Regions from separate parts of the Homo sapiens genome. Here regions 2, 3, 4, 5, 6 and 7 are each linked to region 1. Evidence: promoter capture Hi-C in 16 types of primary human blood cells and fetal thymus (Javierre and others, 2016). All regions are on one chromosome and are shown on one strand. Each heading gives the region's core, a stretch centred on a gene start or on the middle of the fragment in contact. The rest is flanking DNA. Distances are from core to core; before and after follow the strand shown. Region 1 holds the start of SMC2 (structural maintenance of chromosomes 2). Region 2 overlaps MRPL50 (mitochondrial ribosomal protein L50). Region 3 overlaps ZNF189 (zinc finger protein 189). Region 4 overlaps LOC105376184 (a long non-coding RNA gene). Region 5 has its middle 8.9 kb from the start of RNF20. Region 6 overlaps RNF20 (ring finger protein 20). Region 7 overlaps RNF20 (ring finger protein 20).

Region 1 (3,802 bases), core at 707-3,206:
ATCAGCTAGTTGTTAAAGTGCAAAGACTAACAGTCTGTCTTAACACATATTTCCATACCAAAAAATCACTTTATTTCACAACGTGACAAAGTCCACATTAGGATTTGTTGGCAAATTAAAATTCTTTACTCACAAAATGATAAAAGGAAGGAGACACAGCTCAAAGTTAATGTGTAAGAGTTAACAGAATCAATACAAGTGAATAGCTGTGGAGCCCAGGGGATGCAGGAATCAAGGCAGACAAAGATATCTGTTGAATTAAATTAATGTTAGGTCACTACCCATGGTTGACATCACAGAAGTGGATAAGCATACCAGAGTAAACAAAGGAATCCTTTCTTAAACAAAAAACCCATACAACTTATTTTACTCCCTTATCGAGAAATATTTTCAAAATATAAGCCCATTCCTGGTAGGTTAAGACCAATTCAGATGACTGCATTGCCATTCCAGGGCCAAGAAAGCAACTTTAAAAACATGACCTACGCTATGGTCTAAATGTGTCCCTCAAAATGCACATTTTGAAATCCTAACTCCCGAACTGACGGTTTTAGCAAGTGGCATCTTGGGAAGTGAGGAATGGGATTAAGGTCCTTATAAAATAGGCCCAAGCGAGGGCCTCTGCCTCTCCACCATGCGAGGACAGAGCCAGAAGGTGCTATCCACTAAAGAGAAAGCACCCCTCCCTAGACACACCTTATTCTGTGACATTCCAGCCTTCAGAAATGTGAAGAATAAACTTCTGTGGTTCATAAACTACCCAGTCTAGGATATTTTGTTATGGAAGCCCAAAAGGATCAAGCCATTCCAAAATAGCATTGTTGCCCACACCATCTTTTTGAACCTCACTTAGGGTAACACCATACCCATTCGGAGTTAAGCCCTTCCTAACTCTTAAGTATCAACGTGCTTGGAAACGTGAGCAATCCTGACACGTTTTTTCTTCCTAAAGAACAATACATACTAATAATAGGATCGGCTAATAATACTAGATTCTATGCATGAAGCCTAGTATTTAAAAGCATGCAATCTGGAGCTAGACCGCCTGGGAACAAATCCCAGCTTACTAGACAAGCTGTTTAACCTTTTACTTGGTCTCATTTAACTCATTTGTAAAACGAGGGCAATTTCTGATTTCATAGGGTTGCTACGTGGATTTTAAAAAGCCCCTTGCAATATAGCCTAATATTCAGAACTCAATAACATGAACTGTCTTAAAAGGTTTCCAGAAAAAATCCCCAACAGGTTAGGTCGGCTTATCATTACAACGCTTTCCGGTATAAGGGAGATGAATAGCTATTTAGCACCACACAATTTCTCCTCTGGGCTCGGAACAGCTCTCGGTAGACTACGATCCCTTTCCGACGTGGAAACTTCAGATAAAAACGCTCCCCGAGGTCCGAGGCCAGTACGGGGCGGAGCCAGGACGCGGGCCAGAGTCCCCCGAAGGACGGTGCCTCTCTGGCCCCAAGAAGTACAGCTTTTATTTTGCAGCAATCTGAGCCAACCCGAGAAGATTCTGAAGCTTCCAAAACAGAACCGACGAGAACACTCATAGAATGCCTCTCCACTTCCTAACTGTCGCTTTGAGGAGAGAAAAGTAAGCCACAGCCAGCACCGCAGACTGGAGAAGGCGGAGTCTGCAGTGTGCCTAACGCGAACTAGAGGGACCGAGGCGGGGCGGGGCTGGCGAAGCGCGAGGACCCGGGGCCGAGGTGTGGGGCTGACCATAGAGTGCCGGACGCCGGTGTGAACATACACTATCTGCTCCTGTAGTGCCCAGGCCCCTGCCGGGGAGTCCCCGGAGCTACCATTATCGAGACTCTCATTCTATTGCCCTGCGGCTTTAATCCTTCGAGTGTAGGGGAAAAATTGAACCCTAAAGACAGGCAGCTCCTAGGCACCAGCACAGGAAATAAGCAATGGAGGTGGGGTCCTTTGCTCGCGCCGAAATTCAAAGGAATAAATAGTTCCGGCGCGGGTGTTGAGAGCGGTGTGGCAGGTGTTGTAGCCGCTATGGTGAAGTTCGCTTTGTAGCGGCCCCGGCTAGAGAGTTGTTCTGTTCCCTGCCTTTGTGACCCGGAGGAGCTTTTGGGGTGCGTCAAGCCCCTGGCCTGAGGCAGCGGTGAGGCGTGTGCGTGAGCACGGCCGGTTGGGCCGGGCCAGACTTCCTGGCGGGAGGCGGGAGGCGGGAGGCGGGGCGCGGGGCGCGGGGGCTGTAGGGAGGGGGACCAGTGGCAGAGGGACCTTAGGTGATCCTTAGAAATAAAGGCTAGCTTCTGTTCGACCTTGGAGTAGGGCGAAGAGGTGTAGACAGGCCTGGAGAAGCGAGGTAAAAGCCTGAGTAAAAGCAAGAAGTTGGAGAATATGAGATACATCTCATCTCTAGTAAATACTTAAATGACTTCCCCTCCTCCCGGAGTCAAGCACAATTCGGGGATGCAATGACGGACGTAGGTGAAGACACTGCGGGAACTTACAGACAAGTAATGACCGTCTAATATCAGCTTTAAGTACCATGAAGGAAAAAGAAAGCCGAGTGAAGGATTGTGGAGAGGTGACATAGGGAGGTCAGGGAGGACTCCAGTAAGGTGACATTTGAGCAAAGACGTGAGTGCAGTAGAGAGTAAGCTATGTCAGTATCAGAGAAAAGCACATTATAGGCAAAGATAATGGGATATGTAATAATCCATAGTCTTTGTTTAGGTAGAGTATGATAAAAGTAGAAGGCAAGCCTGGAAAAACGGGTAGAAGAAATAGTTAAGACTTCCCAGTTGAATGGTTTAATTTCCAGATAGTGGCTAACTCTGGTATATTTTTGAGTAGATGAACGATGTCTTTACATCAGACAAGATAGTTTGTCAAGTGGCTGTTTTATTTCTATCACCCTATCGTTGCTGTTTTTGCCTCGTGTTCATTATGATTCCAGGTTTACATTCCACTTAGGTGGTGGTATTTCTGTTTCGTACAGAACTGGTTTGTGGCCTGTTTGATTCCTGTCAGAGGTTTGCTGACCCAAGACAGTATCGAAAATGCATATTAAGTCAATTATTCTAGAGGGATTCAAGTCCTATGCTCAGAGGACCGAAGTCAATGGTTTTGACCCCCTCTTCAATGCTATCACTGGCTTAAATGGTAGTGGGAAATCCAACATATTGGACTCCATCTGCTTTTTGCTGGGCATCTCCAACCTGTCTCAGGTAAAGTGTAAACTTTCTGATTTATTTGAATTTAAGTTGGCAGGAGAATCCTCACTGAACTTTGGAGACGTCCCGATATTCTCTTCATTTGTGTTTTTATACTTTTTGTAAATTACACCTCACTGCAACCTTTTAAGGAAAGTAATATTACTCCTTTAGATGAGAAAATAGAAACTTAGAGATGTTTAGAAGTAACAGTGCCTCAAAACTCAGGCATTCTGACTGTAAAGCAGTCTCATTCCAGAGTATTTTCAACCCTGTGTAATGATGCCTTTTCAAATCCTATTAATGGATTGAATGACTAGTGAAAATCTTTGGGACAGTATTTCCTTATATCTTGCAAAGTAACTTTTTATTAAAAAATGAATAGGAAACAATTCAATTCAGGGTTGAAAAGGTTCTGTAGAGAAAAGTGTCCATTGCAGGTTGTTGCCTATTTTCCTTGTTTTTCTTGCCAGAGGATGCAGCTGCCTAACCTTGTCTACTTAATGGACACTACGTTGGTGGGTTTTCCAACAGCAAGGGACCCATTTTTAGTGCTGCTTTGTACGGTAGGGAGTTTTGTAATTGTTACACTTTTCATATTTTATTTTAGGTTCGGG
Region 2 (3,802 bases), core at 463-2,962, 2.7 Mb before region 1:
ACCAAAAACTTCTTTAACGTAAGATTCCAAACGACTCTGGAGATCTTCAGGTGGTGTGTATGCTCGGCTTCGTAAAGGTGGACACACTAGGATAGGTTCCTTTTTCTCTTCTACTGTCTCAACAACCACTGGCTCTTTCTCTTTTCTGGAATGATCAAAAACAAACAGACAAATCCATTAATGAAGTTGACAAACACCAGACCAAATCTTGCCTACCAATCAAAATCAACAATGGCATGCTGATTACCACTGGGGACTACTGAGAGTAGGAAAGAATATGGTAGGCCCCTGCCCTTAGAACGTTCATGGTTGAACTGAGTTGGGAGAGACAGAAAGAAACTAAGTACATATTTTACATACTGTAAGAATTCCTAAGAATGGGTGAAGAAGTAAGGTAAATCATTGTCTGGGATTCCCCATCCTCCAAGATCCCACCCCAATCTACCTTTCTGGTCTTACCTTTCACTGATTACCTACATATACTCCATGTGATACTCTATATCCTGTGTCCCAAGCACACTCCCACTTTCCTGACACAATGTGTTGGCTCAAGTCATATCTTAAAATGCCTGTCTTTTATCTTCACCTATGGAAATCTTGCTTATTCTGTAAGTCTTAGGATAAAATTGTTCTCTTCCAAGATGCTTTACCTAATTTCCAGAATCAAATATAATTGTGATTTCATGTGATCTCTTCAGCAGTTTATACTGCTCTCAGAGTGTATCACATCCTACCTGACTTTTAATTTTACTTACATTCTACTTCACAGAAAGTGAAGAGATGGAAAAAGATATTCCATGCAAACAGAAACCAAAAAGAACAGGAGTAGCTATACTTATATCAGATAAAATAAATTTCAAGTCAAAAACTATAAGAGATAAAGAAGGTCATTACATAATCATAATGAGGTCAATTCAGCAAAAGCATATAACAATTATAAATATATATGCAACCAATATTGGAGAACCTAAACACATAACACAAATATTAATAGATCTAAAGGAAGAGATAGACTACAATACATTAATGGTTGTGGATTTCAACACCCACTCTCAATAACAGACAGATCATCCAGACAAAATCAACAAAGAAAGACTGGAATTACATTCTACACCAAATGGACTTGACACTTAGAGAACATTTCACCCAACTGCTGCAGAATACATATTCTTCTCATGAGTACATGGTACATTCTCCAGGGTAGACTGTATCATAGAACACAAAACAAGTTTTAACAAATTCATAAAACTCAAAATCATATCAAGGACTTTTCTAACGACAATGAAATATAACTAGAAATCAATAACAAGAACTCTAGAAACTATACAACTACATAAAAAATAACATGCTCCCAAATGACCAATGAGTCAATGATGAAATTAGGAAGGAAATTTTAAAACGTCTTGAAGCAATAAAAATGAAAACACAACACATCAAAACCTATGCGATACAGCAGAAGCAGTAGTAAGAGGGAAGCTTATAGTAATAAACATCTACATGAAAAAAGAAAAACTTCACATAAACAATCTAAAGATGTACCTTAAATTAGAAAAAGACAAACCAAATCCAAAATTAGTAGAAGGAAAGAAATAAGATCAGTGTAGAAATAAATAAAATAGACTAAAAAAGCAATAAAAAGATCAATGAATTAAAAAGTTGGTTTATTGAAAAGTTAAAATCAACAAACCTTTAGCTAGACTAAAAAAAACAGAGAAGACACAAATACATAAAATCAGAGGCAAAAAAGGAGATATTACACTGATATCACAAAAATTTAAAGGCTAATTAGAGATTGTTACAAGCAACTATAAGTCAATAGATTGGAAAACCTAGAAGAGATGGATTAATTCCTAGACACGGACAACTTACCAGGATTGAATCACGAAGAAAAAGAAAACCCAAACAGAAATAATGAGAAAGAGGCTGTAATAAAAGTCTCCCATCAAAGAAAAGCTTAAGACCTGATGGCTTCACTACTGAACTCTAGCAAGCATTTAAAGAAGAACTAATGCCAATCAATACGAATTCTACCACAGCTATTCCAAAACACTGAAGAGGAGAGAATACTTCCAAACACACTCTACAAGGCCAGCATTACCCTGAGGCCAAAACCAGACAAAGACAAAATAAAAAAGGAAAACACATTCTACAAGACCAGCATTACCCCGATACCAAAATCAGACAAAGACAAAATAAAAAAGGAAAACTACAGTTCAATATTCCTGATGAGCACAGATGCAAAAACCCTCAACAAAACATTAGCAAGCAGAATTAAACCACACATTAAAATGATCATTCACCATGATCAAGTGGGATTCATCCCAGAATGCAAGAATGGTTCAACATATGCAAATCAACAAATTCGATACATCACATTGATAGAATCAAGAACAAGAATCATGTGATCATTTCAATAGATGCTGAAAAAGCATTTCATACATTTCAACATCCTTTCATGATAAAAACTCTCAATAAACTGGATACTGAAGGAACATACCTCAACATAATAAAGGTCATGCATGACAAACCCACCAAACAAGGACACAAAACAAGCTAGCATCATTGAATGGGAAAAAACTCAAAGCCTTTCCTCTAAGATCTTGAACAAGACAAGGATGCTCACTTTCATCACTTGTATTCAACACAGAACTTGAAGTCCTAGCCACAGCAATTAGACAAGAGAAAGAAATAAAGTACATCAAAATTGAAAAGAAGTCAAATTGTTCTTATTTGATATATGATCTTACGTATCATACGTAAGATATATGATCTTATGTATCATACGTAAGATATATGATCTTATATATCTTGTTGATATATGATCTTGTATTTAGAAAAACCTAAATATCCACCAAAAAAACTCTTAGAAATTATAAATTCAGTAAAGTTTCAGAATACAAAAATCAACATACAAAATCAGTAGCATTTCCATATGCCAATAGTAAACAATCTGAAAAAGAAATCAAGAAATCAATTCCATTAACAATAGCCACACACACAAAAAATCTAGGAATAAACTTCAACAAAGAAGTAAAAGGTCTCTACAATAAAAACTATAAAACACTGATGAAAAAAATTGAAGGGGACACACAAAAAATGGAGATATCCCACGTTCATGGATTGGGAGAATTGATGTTGTTGAAATGCTTATGCTACCCAAAGCGATATACTGTCAATGTAATCTTTATCAAAATACCAATGACGTTCTTCACAGAAATAGAAAAAAAAATCCTAAAATTCGTATGAAACCACAAAATGCCTTGAATAGCCAAAGTAATGCTAAGCAAAAAAAAAAAAAAAAAAAAAAGACCACACCTAACTGACCCCACCTTGCTTCTAACCTTTAAGCTGTCCTTGTTCATTCCTGGGCATAGGCCAAACTAACCTTGGGAAGGAAATGAGTTTACAGTTTGACTCTGAAACAAAATTGGTAATAGCCTTTTTCTGAAAAGACCTCCCTCTTGCCTGGGAACCAGTTTGCTTTTGTAGGACTAACAAATTAGCTACAAGATTAGAAATTATGGTTAGGGGTCATTCAGACTCCGGCTGCAAGAGTCTGATCCTCCCCAAATTGCTCCTGGGATAACACTGCTATTGTAAAATTCAAGGTCAGTGCTTGAGATATTTTGCAGACCCTGCACTCAATGGATTAGCTTACACCACCAAAGCCGGTAATCTGGCTCAATCAGTTCTGTGATCCCACCCAGGATCATAAGTTGGCAAGAACTCACTTAGACCCCCTATGATTTCATTTCTAACCCAACCAATCAACACTCCCCATTTCCTAGGCCCCTACCTGCCA
Region 3 (3,802 bases), core at 674-3,173, 2.7 Mb before region 1:
GAATCTTTGACCCAGGAACAGAGAATGTTCAGAGAAAACACTAACATTATCCGTAAAAGACCAAACTCAGAAGAGAAATGCCATAAATGTGAAGAATGTGGAAAGGGTTTTGTCCGCAAGGCCCATTTCATTCAACATCAAAGGGTCCATACTGGTGAGAAACCTTTTCAGTGCAATGAATGTGGGAAAAGTTTTAGTCGCAGTTCATTTGTTATTGAACATCAGAGAATTCACACTGGGGAAAGGCCCTATGAGTGTAATTACTGTGGAAAAACCTTTAGTGTGAGCTCAACCCTTATTAGACATCAGAGAATCCACACTGGAGAAAGACCCTATCAGTGTAATCAGTGTAAACAGAGCTTCAGCCAGAGAAGGAGCCTTGTTAAACATCAAAGGATTCATACAGGTGAGAAACCCCATAAATGTAGTGACTGTGGGAAAGCCTTCAGTTGGAAATCACACCTTATTGAGCATCAAAGAACTCACACTGGTGAGAAACCTTATCACTGTACCAAATGTAAGAAGAGCTTTAGTCGAAATTCATTGCTTGTTGAGCATCAAAGAATTCACACTGGGGAAAGACCCCATAAATGTGGTGAATGTGGGAAAGCCTTTCGATTAAGCACATACCTTATACAACACCAAAAAATTCACACTGGCGAGAAGCCTTTTCTTTGTATTGAGTGTGGAAAAAGTTTCAGTCGGAGCTCATTCCTTATTGAACATCAGAGGATCCATACTGGTGAAAGACCTTATCAGTGCAAAGAGTGTGGGAAAAGTTTCAGTCAGCTTTGCAACCTTACTCGTCATCAGAGAATTCACACAGGAGACAAGCCCCATAAATGTGAGGAATGTGGAAAAGCCTTTAGTAGAAGCTCAGGTCTTATTCAGCATCAGAGAATTCACACCAGGGAGAAGACTTATCCATACAATGAAACTAAGGAAAGTTTTGATCCAAATTGCAGTCTTGTTATACAGCAGGAAGTCTACCCTAAGGAGAAATCTTATAAATGTGATGAATGTGGGAAAACTTTTAGTGTTAGTGCTCATCTTGTACAACATCAAAGAATCCACACTGGTGAAAAGCCCTATCTATGTACTGTCTGTGGGAAAAGCTTCAGCCGGAGCTCATTTCTTATTGAACATCAGAGAATCCACACTGGTGAGAGACCCTATCTGTGCAGACAGTGTGGAAAAAGCTTTAGTCAGCTTTGTAATCTTATTCGACATCAGGGTGTTCACACAGGTAATAAACCCCATAAATGTGATGAATGTGGAAAGGCCTTTAGCCGGAACTCGGGTCTTATTCAGCATCAGAGAATACACACAGGAGAGAAACCTTATAAGTGTGAGAAGTGCGACAAAAGTTTCAGTCAACAGCGCAGTCTTGTCAACCATCAGAAGATCCATGCAGAGGTGAAAACCCAAGAAACCCATGAATGTGACGCTTGTGGTGAAGCCTTTAATTGCCGTATTTCTCTTATTCAGCATCAGAAATTGCACACAGCATGGATGCAATAAATGTAGAGCAATACATAAGCTCAATTTGATTTGAGACTAGTACCCAAGTGCAGTTTTAGTATGGCTCAACATGGGTCAGATTTAGTGATAAAGCAAATTCTCCTTGGCCTCAGGCAAATAGTTTCTAAAGATTCTGTGAATAGTGGACAACTGCCCATGAGCATTTGACTTCCCTTACTCTTTGATGATCGTAGAGAAAGACTTGGTAATTTATCTAAGTATCTTTAATAAATCTTTCAGCAGAGAGATTAAACCTAGGTTCAGAGCATGGGTGCTCTGAGGGACAAAGTTGGATTAGTATAAGGGAGCTGGAGCAGCTGATAGTGGAAAACAGAATAATGATTCAAAGAGTCTTCTGTCACCATGTCATATTGTGGTTCTTTCAGTTCCATGATATGTTTGGCTCTGCATGCCAAAGTCCAGTGATTAAGCATATATAAGTTGTCAAGGAAACAAAGCCCAAATGTTTTTAAAACAAGTATACAGTTTTTGTCATTGTTTAAGAAAGCCAGTTGTTTGGCATGTGAGTTAAAGGCAGTTCCAATGCCTGATGGTTCCCAGATCTATGAAATGAGTGGACCATTAACCTTACATGTAAAGATTATGTTAGTAATTAAGAAACCTAACAAAGGTGTTACCAAGGAACCTTTGGGAGTGCCTTTTTTGTTTTTCAAGATGGACCCAAAAAAGTGGAGGAAGATATTGTTCTTTTGTGCCCTCCTACCTGTGAGAGATATTTGTAGTCCTATGTGAATGAGCTTATCCCTCCACAACCAGGTGCATATGAAAGTGTACATATTATGACTGCCAAGTATTGGAAATGAAAAGACCTGGAGTCTATGCTAGGAAGCTGAGATATTTTGGTATTGCATTGGTTTTTATGGTAACTAGGTTTTGCATGCAATTAAAAATCCTTATTTCTTGTTCTAGGGCTTCCCTTAGTTAATGGTTATTATAAACCTATTAATTCATCTGTTTTAACCATTAAAACCTGTTTTGTTTTTAGCTTTGTGTAAGAGTTGTTACTTTAGTGTAAAACCAATTCTGTCAAACGCATTACTGTGTTTTTAAAATTAGAATCAAAAATAGGAAGGAAATAGCTGTCATTTGTTCTGTGTGTGACTAGTTAAGCTTTTCTGGAGTAGCTCAATTAAGCCCAGGTTCTTCAGTTTCTGAGTATAGAATTCCAAATTAGCAGAATTCTGTAATTCCAGCTTCCTAATAGTTTGAGCAAATGACCCCTCCTTCTCCTGTACCTCAGTCATTCCAAAAATTACCTCCAGACTTTCATCTTCCCATCTCTTTATGTGTGTACCTGCATGTGAGTGTGGAGATTATGGTACATGTATAGAAAGATACATATCTTTGTGCACTCCCTTATTCAAATTAGGTACTCATAGTTACTATACAGTTGACATTTCAAAACAATTTGTAGTCCAAGGAAAAGTACAAAAAACAACATACTGCACCTGACTCATATAAAATTTTCCTGCCCTGGACCTTCCCAGTTGTACTTATTTTACACTAGTGGTTCCCAGATCAGGATCTCAACTAATGAGGTTCTTAGACCTGTTCTCAGTATTTTAAAAATCTATTGTGTATGTTTTCACTGCATGTACACTGAAACACATTTCTTTGCTTTTTGTTGAAGTCACATCAGTTTCATGTACGGTTATATTCCATAGCAGAAGCACTGGCTGCTGTTGACCTCATAGTAGTTTGAGGCTATGGTTGTATGAGGTAGTCCTACATAATTTTTAATATCCTTGGACATGAATCTGGAATTTATAGAAATTTCTTAATTTTAAAATCCTTGGACAACTCAGAACTCCAGTAACAGTGAACAGTTCTTGACTGCATATACACATCATTGCTTATAAAAAACATAGAACCCTAAAAAATCATTTTTTTAAAATTATACTTTAAGTTCTGGGATACATGTGCAGAATGTGCAGGTTTGTTACATAGGTATACATGTGCCATGGTGTCATTCTGCATAGTGCCATCGCAGAAATTTTCTTCCATTCTGTAGGTTGCCTGTTCACTCTGATGCTAGTTTCTTTTGCTGTGCAGAAACTCTTTAGTTTAGTTAGATCCCATTCATCAATTTTGGCTTTTGTTGCTTTAGTGTTTTAGTTAATTTTGGTGTTTTAGTCATGAAGTCTTTGCCCATGCCTATGTTCTGAATGGTATTGCCTAGGTTTTCTTCTAGGGTTTTTATGGTTTTAGGTTTTACATTTAAATCTTTATTCCATCTTGAGCTAATTTTTGCATAAGGTGT
Region 4 (3,802 bases), core at 519-3,018, 2.6 Mb before region 1:
TTTCTTAATTTAGGTGAGGAGAAAATGTTGTAATAACATGTAAATCAGATTAGATAAATAATGATGCTGTAACAAGCCTGGTGGCATAATAGTATATACGAAGGTGTTTACTGAAGTAGTGATTTTAACAGAAAATTTATCTATCAATCTATCTATCTATCTGAAGGAGATTTTAAGTGATTGTATTACCTTTATACCGTGAAATACTACAAAGCCATTAAAATGTATATATGAATACACACTACAGACATACAGACATACACACACATACAGGTGAGGAAAAGGGTGCAGGTAAAGAAACTAAGTTACAAAACAACTTGCATGTTATCCCTTTTTTGTAACACTGGATGTATGCTTCAATGTAAAGAGAAGATAAATTCACCAAAATATTAACTATGGTGATCATCTCAGAGTGGTGGAATTACAGAATTTTTTTTGAGACTGAGTCTTGCTCTATCGCCCAGGCTGGAATGCAGTGGCATGATCTCGGCTCACTGCAACCTCCGTCTCCCAGGTTCAAGCAATTCTCCTGCCTCAGCCTCCTGAGTAGCTGGGATTACAGGCGCGCACTACCACGCCCGGCTAATTTTTGTATGTTTTAGTAGAGACAGGGTTTCACGATGTTGGCTGGGCTGGTCTCAAATTCCTGACCTCAAGTGATCTGCCCGCCTTGGCCTCCTAAATTGCTGCAATTACAGGCATGAGCCACTGCGCCTGGCCAAGGAATTACAGATTTTTAAAAAATTATTTACAGTTTTCTGTATTGCAGTGGTTCTCAACTTAGTACATTAACAACCTATGAAAAATCTGAATGCTCAGCCCACTCTAGACAAATTAAGTCAGAACTACTGGAAGTGAACCCAGGTTCTAGTAATTTTTTAAATTACCCAGATGATTCAATGTGCAATCAAGCTTGAGAATGAGTATATTGTTTGAATGCTTTACAATCAGTGATCATGTTATAAAGCAGAAAGAAGGGAGAGCCAGAAGAAGTTATCTTCATTTTGCTAATTTATGTGCAGTGTGCATGTGTGTATACTGTGTATGCAGTGTGCATGTGTGGCGGTTGCAGACAAACTAAGGCTAAAGCTGGTAAAAATCCAAAGGAACACAGTAAAGTCACCTAGTTGATCATGAAATCTGGTCAGAAAAACCTGGCTTTGTTTCTTTGTTCTAATACTTCCTGGCTATGTGACCTTAAGCAGCTCACTTCACCTGTTTGAATGTCCATTTTCTTTTCTAGTAAGAGTAAAAGGGAAATTCTATTCCCATAGAATTGTAGGATTCAGTGTCATATTGCATGAACAAGGGCTATGTAAGTTGCTAGTTATAATATGTGGTGGAGTAAAGAAGTAGAAAAGAAAGCAGGAGAAATAACTGAGCACTGAAAGACAAAATATTAACATTCCAGGAATGTTAATATTTTTTGTTTCTCCTGAATGCTTTATTTCCCTAACAAACATAGTTGCTGAGGGCCCGCTTTGCACCAGACACCATTTTAAGGGATAGAAGAGAAAACCTAATGACAGTCTGATTGCCGTCAAGAGGCTCACATGTGAAAGGGAATGAGGAGCTGCAACAAATAGCACAATGCGGTAAGTACTGTAAAGACGTGTGCCCAAGGCAGTAAGAGGCGCCAGTGCCTCTTTCAGAGAAGGGGAGGCAAGACTTGTGAAGCCTACAGAGAGCTAAGATCAGGAAATACTGGCTACATGCTTTGTTCTCTAGGGGGAGCTCAAGGCTTTCTCCTTTGATATCTGAATGGAATCAGTACTTCCAGTGAGAAGGGTGTATGTAGATAGATAAGTTGAACTGTGTTAGGATAAATGCTCCAATGCCACTTGATCTTGGAGTTCTTTCTTGTTAGGTATTTTCTATTGAATGGCGTCTTCCTTTGCTCCCGTGAAGCTGGTTCTATGGAAAGACATTGGGTTATCCCTCCCAGTTAAAAATGTTGCTCCCTCCACTTAGAAGACTAAGGAAGAACCAGAGTGAAGGAAGCCCCATGGGCAGGAAGAGGACTCATTTGGGCTCAAGACATTCAGTCCAACCTAGCTCACAAGGATGGATGAGATCATGATTCGGGACCATAACTTGTCACTTGTGCACATACTCTAAACGGTGGCGTTTTTCAAGGTATTGAAAGGAGGTGGCAGGATAGGATTAAGAAATTTGATCCAGACAGGCTTATCAAATTCACTACAACCAACAGATGGTTCTAGATTTTTTTTTTTTCATTAATGTTTCATGACTATGTGCTCTCGATTTGAAGTTTCAAGGTCCTCTTGAAGTTTTTTTTGTTTGTTTTTTTAGACAGGGTCTTGCTCTGTCACCCAGTGCAGTGGTGTGATCATCATGGCTCAATGCAGCCTCTTACTCCTGGGCTCAAGTGATCCTCCCACTTCAGCCTCCCAAAGCATTGGGATTACAAGCATGAGCCACACACACCTGGCTCAGAGTCCTCTTGAATCTGGCAAAAACTTGATTTGGAATTTTCTAAAATTTCTCTTATTTGTTGTAGCAACTGTATTTCATGGGAAGATATTTCTCTGATAGATCGATGCTCTTCTTTTTTATCTCTTTGTATCACCTATAAATGCTCCCATTTGCACACTCTTAAAGAAGTAAGCTTAGGATAGTTTCTTTTTTTTTTTTTTTTAGACGGAGTCTCGCTCTGTCGCCCAGGCTGGAGTGCAGTGGCGGGATCTCGGCTCACTGCAAGCCCCGCCTCCCGGGTTCACGCCATTCTCCTGCCTCAGCCTCCCAAGTAGCTGGGACTACAGGCGCCCGCCACTACGCCCGGCTAATTTTTTGTATTTTTAGTAGAGACGGGGTTTCACCGTTTTAGCCGGGATGGTCTCGATCTCCTGACCTCGTGATCCGCCCGCCTCGGCCTCCCAAAGTGCTGGGATTACAGGCGTGAGCCACCGCGCCCGGCCAGGATAGTTTCTGATTGCCTCACATGGAAAGTTAAAATGTAATCTCTCAGAGTTTTTGTGATGTCTAAATGAAGGCTATATAGACAATTTTGATTTTTAAGTTGTTTTTCTTTGTTACTTCGGGTATCAAACTGGGGATAGTGTGGAAACCACCAGTTCCTGAGGTAGTTGTGGCTAGGAAATTCACTTGTATACTAAAGAGCTTCATTTTTTTGTTTGCTGTGTAATTAGAAAGTAACTGGGTCTATGCCTTTATTCTTTGCATGGCAAGGTTTGCCTTGTTAGATACCAGACAAGGTAGCACCCCGGATATTTGCCAGGCATATTTATCCTTGTCAAAGGCACATTGGCAGTAAATGACACTGAAGGATCCTGCTTGGTATGACTTCGGTTATCAAGTAAACTGTTGCAGAGTTGTTGGGGGGATCCAGATATACCCCCATATCATCTCTTGCTTCACCTCATCTCTGACCCTAGCCCCTGAGTAAATAGGTGGGTTCTGCTGGGGTCCACTTCTTGGTTAGCTGTTCCTTCTTCTGACTGAGTTGTAATAGATAGGACTGGCCACTTTTTCAAACTAATCTCATCTGTATTGTATCTTGCAAAAATTCCCCTGTCTGTAGCATGTGACTGACCCTTTTCATTGATTTCTAGCACAGTATAGTGTTCTTCGTACTTTTATCTTTCGTGGCTGATAGAGGGAATCTAACCGTTTGCCGTAGAGGAGATTAGATAAGACTGCTGATGTCAATATTGTGCTTGGAAGATGTTTCTTCTGAATCTCAGTGGGGGGTTCAGAAACTTATCACCTCTCCAGTAGCTTCCCATCACACTGAGAATAAAATGCCAGCTCCTAACTGTGA
Region 5 (3,802 bases), core at 867-3,366, 2.6 Mb before region 1:
CAGACCCTTCTAGCTTTGTAGAGTTTCTGCTAAGAAATCTGCTGTTAATCTGATAGGTTGTCCTTTATAGGTTACCTGATGCTTCTGCCTCACAGCTCTTAAGATTCTTTCCTTCGTCTTAACTTTGGATAACCTGATGACTTGCGATGAATTTCCTGAGTGTTCTTTGTGCTTCTTGTGTTTGGATTTCTGGGTCTCTAGCAAGGCCAGGAAAGTTTTCCTTGATTATTCCCCCAAATATATTTTCCAAGCTTTTAGAATTCTCTTCTTCCTCAGAACACTGATTATTCATTCTTAGTTTTGGTCATTTAACATAATTCCAGACTTCTTGGAGGCTTTGTTCATATTTTTCTTTTTTCTTTGTCTTTGTTGGATTGGGTTAATTTGAACACCTTTTCTTTGAGTTCTGAGTTTCTTTCTTCTACTTGGTTCAATTCTATTGTTGAGACTTTCCTGAGCATTTCACATTTCTAAAAATGTGTCCAAAGTTTCCTGAATTTTTCATTGTTTTTTTTTCTTTAAGCTATCTATTTCCTTGAACATTTCTCCCCTCACTTCTTGTATCTTTTTTTTTTTTTTTTTTTTTTTTTTTTTTTTTGGATTTCCTTGCATTGGGCTTCGCCTTTCTCTGGTCCCTCCCTGATTAGCTTAATAACTAACCTCCTGAATTCTTTTTCAGGTAAATCAGGAATTTATTCTTGGTTTGGATCCATTGCTGGTGAACTAGTGTGATTTTTTGGGGGTGTTGAAGAGCCTTGTTTTGTCATATTACCAGGGTTGGTTTTCTGGTTTCTTCTCATTTGGGTAGGCTCTGTCAGAGGCAAGGTCTAGGGTGGAAGGCTATTGTTCAGATTCTTTTGTCTCATGGGGTGTTCCCTTGATGTAGTACTCTCCCCCTTTTCCTATGGATGTGGCTTCCTACAAGCCGAACTGCAGTGATTGTTATCTCTCTTCTGGGTCTAGGCACCCAGCGAGTCTACCCAGCTCCGGGCTGGTACTGGGGGTTGTCTGCACAAGAGTGCTGTGATGTGAACTGTCTATGGGTCTCTCAGTCATGGACACTAGCGCCTTTTCTGGTGGAGGTTGGGGGGCGGGTGTGCAATGGACTCCGTGAGGGTCCTTAGCACACTAGATCAGTGGAGTTATGTACCTATGAGGATTATGGATGCCTCTGCTGAGTCATGCAGGTTGTCAGGTAAGTGGCGGTAAGCTGGCAGTCACAGGCTTCACCCAGCTCCCATGCAAACCGAAGGGCTGGTCTCACTCCCACTGTGTCCTCTGCCAACAGCCCCAGTCTGTTTCCAGGTGGAGGGCTATATGGCTTGAAAACCGGCCCCAGGCTATCTACCTCCCAGCTGCGAAAGAAAAGGGCTTCGTTCCTTCTCAGCCTGTGAGTCTGCACACCAGATTTGCCCTGCCCTGAGTTCTGGCCACGAGGCTTCTCACCCCATTCAAATTGTTACAAAATTCAGCTAGAGATTTCTTTCTCCCTGTGGAGTTTTAGCCCCTGCTCCTCTGTCTACTCTCCCGATGGATCCCTGTGGTGCCAGCCAGGAATGGGCTGCTGGGGGACCCCGTGAGCTCCCAGGGCCTTACTGCTGCTTCCTCTACCCCTGTATTTCACTTGGCTAACTTGACTCAGCTCCAGGTAAAGTCAAAAACTTCTTCCACAAACAGACTTTCAGCTTCTTCAGTGAGGGTATGTGTTCAGGAGAAGAGGGCCTCCCTTTCTTACTTCCACAGTTGGGGCACTCACAGTTTTAGGGGGCTCTCCTGGGTCCTGCAGGAGTAGTCCGCTTCCTTCAGAGGGTCTGTGGGTCCTCTCGGGATTGCTGGTTTGTTCTTGTAGTCGATCTGGAGCTAAAATTCATAATGCGAGCTCCCACACGCTGCTCTGTCCGGAGCGGCAATCTAGTCCTGCCTCCCATCTGCCCTGATGATTGCTATCTCCAGTCCTTCGTTCATGAGCACTTGGGTTGATTCCATGTCTTTGCTATTGTGAATTGTGTACCAGTGAATATACGAGTGCATGTCTTTTTGGTAGAACAATTTGTTTTCCTTTGGGTAGATTCCCAGTAATGGGATTGCTGGGTCAAATAGTAGTTGTTTTTTAAGTTCTTTGAGAAATCTCCAAACTGCTTTCTAAAGTAAGCCCTCTCTTTAAATAGCTAGGTTTGTGCTTGCTATTTAGTTTACATATTAAACCCCCTTCATATTTATTTACACGTAAATAGCTGAAATATTTCATTTAGAGAATAGAGTGAATAGGAGATGAGGAAGCAGAGACTACAAGTGGAGACAATTTGTGTACGTCTAAAATTGGTAATACGTTGGTTTTAAATGTTTTTTTTTTCCTATGAAAATAAATGTTGGCGGGCGCAGTGGCTCATGCCTGTAATCTCAGCACTTGGGGAGGCCGAGGTGGGCAGATTGCCTGATGTCGGGAGTTCGAGACCAGCCTGGCCAACATGGCGAAACCCTGTCTCTACTAAAAATACAAAAATTAGCCAGGTGTGGTGACAGGTGCCTGTAATCTCAGCTACTCAGGAAGCTAAGGAAGAGAGAATCACTTGAACCCGAGAGGCGGAGCTTGCAGTGAGACAAGATTGCGCCATTGCACTCCAGCCTCGGCAACAGAGCGTCTCAAAAAAAAAAAAAAAAAAAAAAGAGAGAGAGAGAGAGAAAATAAATGTTATGCATATATTCCTGAAACCGACTTATCCCATTCAACAACATATTCTTATATTTCAGTGTTAAGAAATACAAATCTATATCACAACTTTAATGACTACATAGAATTCTATATTCGAGGACATTTCATGATTTATACAAATTGATTCTAAAAATTTTAAGTAATAAATAATGCTATGTTAAACATTTTTGTACAGTCATATTTAAACAAGTATGTGATTCTATTTTTTTCAAGCATATAATCAAACCTGGAATAGCTGAATCATTGGGTATGACATAGTTTAGGCTTTTGGTACAAATTGACATTTATTTATAAAAGGACAGTTTTCATAAGAAGAAAAAAATACAAAACAAGATGTTCAGTACTTCACATATTTTAGCATTTAACAGCTTGAAGCAACACATCTCCTTGCTGTTCTTCTAAATGTTAAGATCACATTTCAAACACACTGATCTAATTAGCCTTGGCCATCACTCTGTTGTAAGTGGCTACCCACATAATTATTAGATTATTAATAAAAGCAAGCACAAATAAGAAAAAGAGAAAGGGAATAGTCTTCAAGGTTAACTGAATATTTGAAATGTCAATGTAATGTCAAAATTTGCTGCATGGTTTGGACATAGTCCATTAAAAGTATCTTTCTCCCTGTACTATTGAAATCTCTATTACCCTGGCATCCAGTACTTTTATTTTTTTAAATTTATTTTTATTATTTATTTTTGGGATGGCGTCTGACTCTCTCGCCCAGGCTGGAGAGCAGTGGCATGATCTTGGATCACTGCAACCTCTGCCTCCTGGGTTCAAGTGATTCTCCTGCCTCAGCCTCCCAAGTAGCTGAGACTACAGGTATGCGCCACCATGCCTGGCTAATTTTGTGTATTTAGTAGAGATGGGGTTTCACCATGTTGGCCAGGCTGCTCTTGAACTCCTGACGTCAGGTGATCCACCCACCTTGACCTTCCCAACTCCTGGAATTACAGGCATGAGCCACTGCGCCTGGCCCCAGTTACTTTCAAAACCTTATTCAAGTACATGATGCAAATGAATCCAGCTTCTAGGGTGGTTCATAAATTGTAATTTCAAGGTTTAGTTCAATAAGTGAAGCATAAT
Region 6 (3,802 bases), core at 367-2,866, 2.6 Mb before region 1:
AAGAATTCATTTTTGCATGCTAATTTGTAGTTTGCAAGCTTACATATTTATTTTTATTTATTTATTATTTACTTTTTAAGAGATAAGGTTTCACTGTGTCACCCAGGCTGGAACACAGTGGCACCATCATAGCCCATTGAATCCTCGAACTCAAGCAATCTTTCTGCCTCAGCTTCCGAATAGCTAGGACTATAGGCACGTACTACCACACCTGGCTAATATTTTAACCTTTTTGTAGAGAGGAAGTCTTGCTATGTTGCCCAGGCTGGTCTCAAACTTGGCCTCAAGAGATCCTCTCTTCTGGCCTCCCAAAGTGTTAGGATTACAGGCATGAGCCACTGTGCCTGGACTATATATTTTAATTAAATTTTTAGAAATTCTAACCTTCAGTGTTACTGGTAATGTCTTCATTATGGCATATTAATCTTTTATCAGTGCTTCTCATTTTGAGCCACATGACAGTCCTTTAATAAGCTGAGGAAAGAGTTTATCAGCTCTATACTGATATACTCTATTAATGACAGTTTTGTAAATAGCAGAATTAACTTTATTATTTAATAAACAGCTCTAATATCTGGATCTGTTTATCGTGTATGTAGGCTATTGATTTATAGTGATAATACTTTATTTTAAATAACAACTATATTATTTAATTATTAGTTACAGAATTTTGACTTGAAAAAGTTAATTTTTACTTAACTTATTTTTCATTATCGCTAATGTTTTTAAAAAGAGTTGGTGCAGGTTTTAGAGTTGACAGATGATCTGTATGGTTAAAAGGATTATTAGAAAATATTCTATGGATGAAAGAGTATTTGAAATAAAATAATTATTTGGGATAATTGTGTTACTCAGAGTTAATGCAAAAATTTAAATTTGTACAGTAAAGTATTTGTGTAGCTAGGTTACATCTTTAGTCATTTGTGGCATAAATACCTTGCTCAAATGCAAAAAAAATGCCTTGATTTCATGTTTTCAATAATAATCATGGTCTAGTTGTAATATCTTAATTTCCCTGCTTATCATTAAGATGTTTAACCTTTCATTTCTGAAGGAAATAAGTTGAATGTAATGGAGGTTGAACCATTGGATGAGCATATAAGAATTGTATTATTCTGTAATTTTGCTTTTAAGGGTAATTGGGCTAAGTTGTCAACAGAATTAAGCAGCTTGTAGAAGGCCTGTGAAAATTTGGTCACGGGTTTCTTTTGCTTTTCCATTAGATTATGCATTTCTGTATTTTATTATAAGGAAAACAGATACTTGTTTAAAAATATACAAGTCAGAAATACAAATAAGTAGACTACAAAAGTTTCCCCATTCTCATTTCTCAAAAGATAACCATTCTAAACAATGTGTTTTATGTCCTCTCAGACTTTTGTACTTTTGTATTAATATCTTACATCTACTTGCATGTCCCCAGCTAAACTGTGTCTTGGTTCAGTAGTTTGGCTCACTCTTCTTTGTTTCTCTAGTTTCTAGCACTGCATCTGGCATCTAGCAGATGTTTAGTCAATGGGGAATGAATGGATGTGAACCTCCCTGTCACCTAATATAAAATAATGGTGCTTTGTGTGTGCACATATGCTTCTTTCTCCTTGGGCTCTAATTGAATAGTTAGAAGGTATTGTTAAATTTTAGTAATATGGTAATTAATATGCCATGTGCATAGACTATGTTAAACTTGATTTCATAAATGAATATCAAGTGAAACAATTGTTTTATTTAAAAAGGGAATAAAATGAGTAGTATATCAAACGACTTTAAAATTACTATTTAATGGCATGCATTTTAAGGTCGGGTTTAAGTTAAAAAGTAGAAACATTACAAATAGCCATGCCATTATTTGTAACACAAAAGGCAATTGCCATTGGTAAGCTGAACTTTCTAAGAGATAAAGATGTATAAAGTATGAATTATAGCATCAGTTGTAACTTGTTTGAAAGTTCATCCCCCTGACTTAGACTGAAAATTGACATTCCTCAAATTCCTAGGACATCATCAATACAGTAGTTTCTACTTCCCCATTCCCTGTGGAATTTCTACCACGCCATTCCTCAATAACACTATACAGTCTTTTATATTTAGGGTAATTCATTATTTGGAGGTTTGGAGTTGTGTTGTGTTTTACAAAATCCCCTATGATATGATAGGCCTTCTAGAGTAAGGTAAGGCCTTCTAGAGCAAGTATAGGCCTTATAGAGTAAGGTCTATAAATTCATCTAACCCTGCCAGAGCGGCACTGTCTAACCTGCCACGGCAGTACTGTCTAACCGTGCCAGGGCGGCACTGTCTAACCCTTCCAGGGCGGCACTGTCTAACCCTTCCAGGGCGGCACTGTCTAACCCTGCCAGGGCGGCACTGTCTAACCTGCCAGAGCGGCACTGTCTAACCTGCCAGAGCGGCACTGTCTAACTCTGCCAGGGCGGCACTGTCTAACCTGCCAAGGCAGCACTGTCTAACCCTGCCAGGGTGGCACTGTCTAACCCTGCCACTGCAGTACTGTCCAACCCTGCCAGAGCGGAACTGTCTAACCTGCCAGGGCGGCACTGTCTAACCTGCCAGAGCGGCACTGTCTAACCCTGCCAGGGCGGCACTGTCTAACCTGCCAGGGCAGTACTGTCTGTTTGTTTGGTCTTTGATTCAAAAGAATTGCATTTATGGGCTTGTTTATAAATTCACTAAACATTTATTGAATTTTATTGTATTCTAGCCCTGTCCTCAGTGCTTAGGATATTGAGAGGACTAAAATTCAGTCTCTACTTCTTAACTCAGGTTATGAATCAGAATAACCTTGGGAGTTTTCTGAGCATATTCTTATTTTTGGCTTTGCCCATGGAGGTTCTTATTAAGTAGGTATGAGATAGGTCCTAGGGAAATGTCTATTTTAAAAGTTCCACAAGTGATTCTGATGGGCAAGCCTAGCTTGAAAACCATGAAAACCACCATATGACCAACCTGTTCTGTATTGATACTAAGAGTAATGCCAAGAGGTGATATGAGAAAGCATATTTTTCTTCCTGATAACTCTCTTTGATGGGTGGTATATATCCTGAGAGTATCTGGTTTCATTTAATTACATTTGGATTTCAGCTATAGTATTTGCAACTCTAATTTTAAACATACGAACTTGGTGTAATAAGTTCTATGGATTTACCTACCTGCTTTGTAAATAGTAGTGTACATTTTGGTTTTTAAGCTTCAGAAGTGCCCCTAACATAGTATTTCAGAATATATGATATGAGAATATGTGATAAGAGCATATGATTCTTGCTTTGTTATTCAGGCTGGTCTTGAACTCCTGGCCTCAAGTGATCGGCCTGCCTTGGCTTCCCAAGGTGCTAGGATTACAGCGTGAGCTGCTATACCTGGCCAAGGATACACAGTTTTAAAATTTGACACTATAGGCCAGGCACGGTGGCTCACACCTGTAATCCCAGCACTTTGGGAGGCTGAGGTGGGTGGATCACCTGAGGTCAGGAGTTTGAGACCAGCCTGTCCGACATGGTGAAACCCCATCTCTACTAAAAATACAAAAATCATCCGGGTGTGGTGGCATGTGCCTGTAATCCCAGCTACTCTGGAGGCTGAGGCAGGAGAATCGGCTCGAACCCTGGAGGCAGAGGTTGCAGTGAGCCGAGATCGCGCCACTGTACTCCAGCCTGGGCGATAGAGCAAGACTCCGTCTTAAAAAAAAAAAAAAAATGACACTCTAGATGCTAAATTAAAGTATAGTTCTTCTTCCCCAGATAATCTGATAGTGGAGGAAGCAGTGCAGGAGCTGAACTCTTTCCTCGCACAG
Region 7 (3,802 bases), core at 575-3,074, 2.5 Mb before region 1:
TACCCATCCACGAGCATGGGATGTGTTTCCATTTGTTTGTGTCATCTGTGATTTCTTTCAGCAGTGTTTTGTAATTTTTCTTGTCGAGGTCTTTCACGTTCTTGGTTAAGTATATTCCTAAGTATTTTATTTTATTTTTTTTGCAGCTGTTGTCAAAGGGTTTGAGTTCTTGATATGATTCTCAGTTTGGTTGCTGTTGGTGTATAGCAGAGCTCTGATTTGTGTACATTAATTTTGTATAGTGAAGCTTTGCTGAATTCATTTACCAGTTCTAGCACCTTTCTGGATGAGTCTTTAGGGTTTTCTAGGTATATGATAATGTAATCAGCAAACAGTGACAGTTTGACTTCCTCATTACCAATTTGGATGCCTTTTATTTCTTTCTCTTGTCTGATTGCTCTGGCTAGGACTTCCAGTGCCATGTTGAATGGAAGTGGTGAGAGTGGCATCTGTGTCTTGTTCCAGTTCTCAGGGGGAATGCTTTCAACTTTTCCTTGTTCAGTATAATGTTGGCTGTGGGATTGTCATAGATGGCTTTTATTACCTTAAGGTATGTCCCTTCTATGCTGATTTTGCTAGAGTTTTAATCATAAAAGGATGCTGGATTTTGTCAAATGCTTTTTCTGCATCTATTGAGATGATCATGTGATTTTTTAAAAATTCTGTTTATATGGTGTATCAGATTTATTGACTTGTGGATGTCAAACCATCCCTGTATCCCTGGTGTGAGACCCACTTGATCATGGTGGACTATCTTTTTGATATGCTTTTTGAAGGCAGTGTGAGAAACTGTTAGAATGGTTACCTCTACATATTGGGATGAGTTGTGGGTGAGGTTAGGAGGTGGGTGTTTGTGATTTTACTTTTTACACTTTAATATTGTTTGATTCTACTTTGTGCATTAATTTCAAAAAAGACTCTTTTAGAATGTCTAGCCATTCTGAAGGAAATACTCTTGGACTTTTGTTTGAGTTCTAATTTATATGTTATAGTATGAATTGCCAGGTTTTAAGCATTAGCATGCATTCTCTATTTTTGGCAATTTGGAAAAGAATCTTTTCAGTCATTTTTCAGACTCTTACTGAATCTTCCACAATATTTTATATTAAAAGTAAAGCTTTCAGTTATCATAGTCTTGATGTATTTTGAAGGGTTCATGGGCAAAATCAGTAATAGTTTGAGATTTCTAACATACTGTATTTTGTGGGCTTATAGATTAACAGAATAGTTTTTTTTCTTTTTTTAATCTTTTCATTTGTGTTAAAATCTGATTTTCTGTTCAAAGGTTGATGCCCAGCTACAGGTAGTAAGGAAACTGGAAGAGAAGGAGCATCTGTTACAGAGCAACATTGGCACAGGGGAGAAAGAGCTGGGTCTTAGGACCCAAGCCTTAGAGATGAATAAACGCAAGGTATGATTGATTAATCTAATGATGGTTAGTCTCAGTGGAACAAATAAGTATAACACTGTTGAGATTGTAAGTTCGCTTTATTCCTTCAACTTGGGCTAACATTTTGCCTCACTGGCAATAATAGGTGATACAATGGTGTCACTTATTTGTACATCCTACATAGGCAATGGAGGCAGCCCAGCTTGCAGATGACCTCAAAGCACAACTGGAGTTGGCTCAGAAGAAGCTACATGATTTTCAGGATGAGATCGTGGAGAACAGTGTTACCAAAGAAAAGGACATGTTCAATTTCAAACGAGCCCAGGTAAAAGCAGTTGTCTTTTCTTGTCACCTTTTAGGTGTTTTCTGAGGTCGGAAGTGACCCATATCATGAAAGAATCATTAGTCCAATGTATGTCATTTCCTACTAGACTTGAGGAAGTTTGTTGAGGGAAGAGAGTAAGTCTGTTTTCTTCACTGCCATATCCTCAGACTCTTTTATGGTGCCTTGCACCTAGTAGGCACAAAATAAATATTTGTTAAATTAATGAATTAGTAAATTGTTAAAGAAGTAACAGCATAGCAGCAGTAGAGGATTTTCAAGTTCTTGTATAATGTCTCTATTTTTGTCATGCTAGCTGTTTCTCATGATGTCTTTCTGTCTTTATCCGTAAGTCTCTGAATTATTTTAAACCGTTCTACCTTCAGCTTAAAACTAATTACTATAAAACAAAATAGACTGTCCTCTAAACTCTTAGATGTGTTTTCACAGGACTGAATTGGTAATAGATGCAATTCTAATTTGGGGATATAATTATGGTTGCCTCTTCTGAAACAAAAGAAAATATCCTGCCATTTGCAGTTCTCTACATTTCTACAAGATAATTGACCATAAAAGGATAGAAAGTCCCCTCTTTTCACAACAGAAAACTCAAGTCTATTATTTTTCTCAAAAATGATAGATTTGGGTAAGTGTGTCTAATGGGTATGCTATCCTGCCACAGGAGGACATCTCTAGACTTCGCAGGAAGCTGGAGACCACAAAGAAACCAGACAATGTACCCAAGTGTGATGAGATTCTGATGGAAGAGATTAAGGATTACAAGGTTAGAAAAAATGCCTTAGTGATTAGTTTTTTGTCAAAGCTTTAAGTGGCCTAATAGACTGGGAGAATAATTTGCATGATAGTAACCAGAGAATGGTTTATTTTGGAGGTTGGGGGGAAATGATGCTCTTTTTTTAGTGCCTTGTGGGTTTTCTTCTTGGTTGTGTAGTATATGAGAGCCATTTGGATCATAAACTTTCATGGTTGTTCAAACTCTGACATCTTTTCTTTTTAGGCACGCTTGACCTGTCCGTGCTGTAACATGCGTAAAAAGGATGCTGTTCTTACTAAGTGTTTTCATGTCTTCTGCTTTGAGTGTGTGAAGACACGCTATGACACCCGCCAGCGCAAATGTCCCAAGTGTAATGCTGCTTTTGGTGCCAATGATTTTCATCGCATCTACATTGGTTGATCTAAGTCAAGAGAAGAAGAGGAGCTGGCTAGTCAGGAACTTATTCATTAACCACCAAACCTCTACCTCTTCTCTCCTTGACTGTCACCTGTAGGACAGTTTATCAGTCAACTACCTTTCCTCCAGACTTTACTTCCAGGCTCTCCTCTTCAGTAGCTGGATGACTTTAGCAGAAAGGACTGGTAAATACAAGCCTTGGGTTTCAGAATGAATTAGAAACAAATAACTCTTACTGTCTTCCCTCCCAGCTTTGTTTATTTTGTGCTTTTAGACTTTTCAGTGTTTTCTTTTTCCAGCCCACTGTATAAACTTGGATTGTCCATTCCTCCTGAAGAAATCAAGTTGGTATTTTTGATGTGGAAAAGGGAACAAAAGTGGAAACATGGCTACTTTTGGGGAGTGATATTTTAAAAAATAAGTTGTCTATGGGCACAAAGTTTTCTTCATTTGTGTAGCAAACTTCTTGTGAATGTGGATTACAAAATGGTATAATTGTGCTACTCTCCCCTGGGTGGTTTGCAGCCCTAATGAAATTATGTCTAGGATGATTCAGTCTATTTCCCATTTACTAGCAGAGTAACTTGTTAAGATCAGCTGGCTTTCTTGTTAAAGTTATTTAAGTTTTGAATGCTCTACTACTTCAAGTCTTTAAATTTCTTGAGACTAGAATAATTTTAAATAATATGACCCTTTGTCTTCTAATGAAATAAAGATTGAAGAGGTTGAGTCAGGACTGAGCTGGTGAAGAAATCTTGTGGGTATTCTGGAAATTTGATACGGAGAGAACTTGGTGAGCTATGAATTACTCTCAGTCTCCTTTTTACAGGGTTGTTGTGATCCCTCTTTTCCAGAAAATTCTGTGGAATGTTTCTGTAGGACTTTGTTCTCCACAAGC

The links. The method cuts DNA at HindIII sites, captures the fragments that hold promoters and counts their contacts. A CHiCAGO score of 5 or more calls a contact.
Region 2: a contact is called between a fragment that was not itself captured here and the fragment with the promoter of SMC2 in region 1, in 4 of 17 cell types (total B cells, total CD4 T cells, non-activated CD4 T cells and 1 more). The highest score is 6.8, in total B cells.
Region 3: a fragment that was not itself captured here is called in contact with the fragment with the promoter of SMC2 in region 1 in 1 of 17 cell types (activated CD4 T cells); the score reaches 5.1 in activated CD4 T cells.
Region 4: a fragment that was not itself captured here is called in contact with the fragment with the promoter of SMC2 in region 1 in 1 of 17 cell types (total CD4 T cells); the score reaches 5.1 in total CD4 T cells.
Region 5: a fragment that was not itself captured here is called in contact with the fragment with the promoter of SMC2 in region 1 in 1 of 17 cell types (total B cells); the score reaches 5.1 in total B cells.
Region 6: a contact is called between a fragment that was not itself captured here and the fragment with the promoter of SMC2 in region 1, in 1 of 17 cell types (M0 macrophages). The highest score is 5.4, in M0 macrophages.
Region 7: a contact is called between a fragment that was not itself captured here and the fragment with the promoter of SMC2 in region 1, in 1 of 17 cell types (non-activated CD4 T cells). The highest score is 15.7, in non-activated CD4 T cells.

Annotation. Positions count from the first base shown.
Region 1 is chr9:104,092,353-104,096,154 of GRCh38, forward strand. It overlaps SMC2 (structural maintenance of chromosomes 2), which reads left to right and starts at 1,957. Exons shown (of 25, transcript NM_006444.3): 1 at 1,957-2,125; 2 at 2,972-3,200; 3 at 3,796-3,802. The coding sequence starts at 3,033. It overlaps SMC2-DT (SMC2 divergent transcript), which reads right to left and starts at 122. Exons shown (of 3, transcript NR_121580.1): 1 at 1-122. RefSeq lists enhancers at 1,240-1,909, 1,372-1,691, 1,910-2,577. The HindIII fragment of the contact is 5,032 bases long and covers 1,524-3,802 here.
Region 2 is chr9:101,390,706-101,394,507 of GRCh38, forward strand. It overlaps MRPL50 (mitochondrial ribosomal protein L50), which reads right to left. Exons shown (of 2, transcript NM_019051.3): 2 at 1-145. Among named protein-coding and RNA genes, the nearest start is that of MRPL50, 6.0 kb to the right of the region's middle. The HindIII fragment of the contact is 477 bases long and covers 1,475-1,951 here.
Region 3 is chr9:101,408,129-101,411,930 of GRCh38, forward strand. It overlaps ZNF189 (zinc finger protein 189), which reads left to right. Exons shown (of 3, transcript NM_003452.4): 3 at 1-2,526. The coding sequence ends at 1,521. Among named protein-coding and RNA genes, the nearest start is that of ZNF189, 11 kb to the left of the region's middle. RefSeq lists an enhancer at 1-715. The HindIII fragment of the contact is 1,453 bases long and covers 1,198-2,650 here.
Region 4 is chr9:101,457,476-101,461,277 of GRCh38, forward strand. LOC105376184 (a long non-coding RNA gene) reads left to right here. Exons shown (of 4, transcript XR_001746862.2): 4 at 1,466-1,614. Among named protein-coding and RNA genes, the nearest start is that of TMEM246-AS1, 9.1 kb to the right of the region's middle. RefSeq lists an enhancer at 3,747-3,802. The HindIII fragment of the contact is 1,717 bases long and covers 911-2,627 here.
Region 5 is chr9:101,523,055-101,526,856 of GRCh38, forward strand. It overlaps a transcript of PGAP4 not described here. Among named protein-coding and RNA genes, the nearest start is that of RNF20, 8.9 kb to the right of the region's middle. RefSeq lists an enhancer at 1,311-1,810. The HindIII fragment of the contact is 3,734 bases long and covers 250-3,802 here.
Region 6 is chr9:101,541,018-101,544,819 of GRCh38, forward strand. RNF20 (ring finger protein 20) reads left to right here. Exons shown (of 20, transcript NM_019592.7): 6 at 3,750-3,802. Among named protein-coding and RNA genes, the nearest start is that of RNF20, 9.1 kb to the left of the region's middle. The HindIII fragment of the contact is 3,161 bases long and covers 37-3,197 here.
Region 7 is chr9:101,559,516-101,563,317 of GRCh38, forward strand. It overlaps RNF20 (ring finger protein 20), which reads left to right. Exons shown (of 20, transcript NM_019592.7): 17 at 1,286-1,411; 18 at 1,575-1,715; 19 at 2,395-2,496; 20 at 2,731-3,802. The coding sequence ends at 2,907. Among named protein-coding and RNA genes, the nearest start is that of RNF20, 28 kb to the left of the region's middle. The HindIII fragment of the contact is 1,418 bases long and covers 1,116-2,533 here.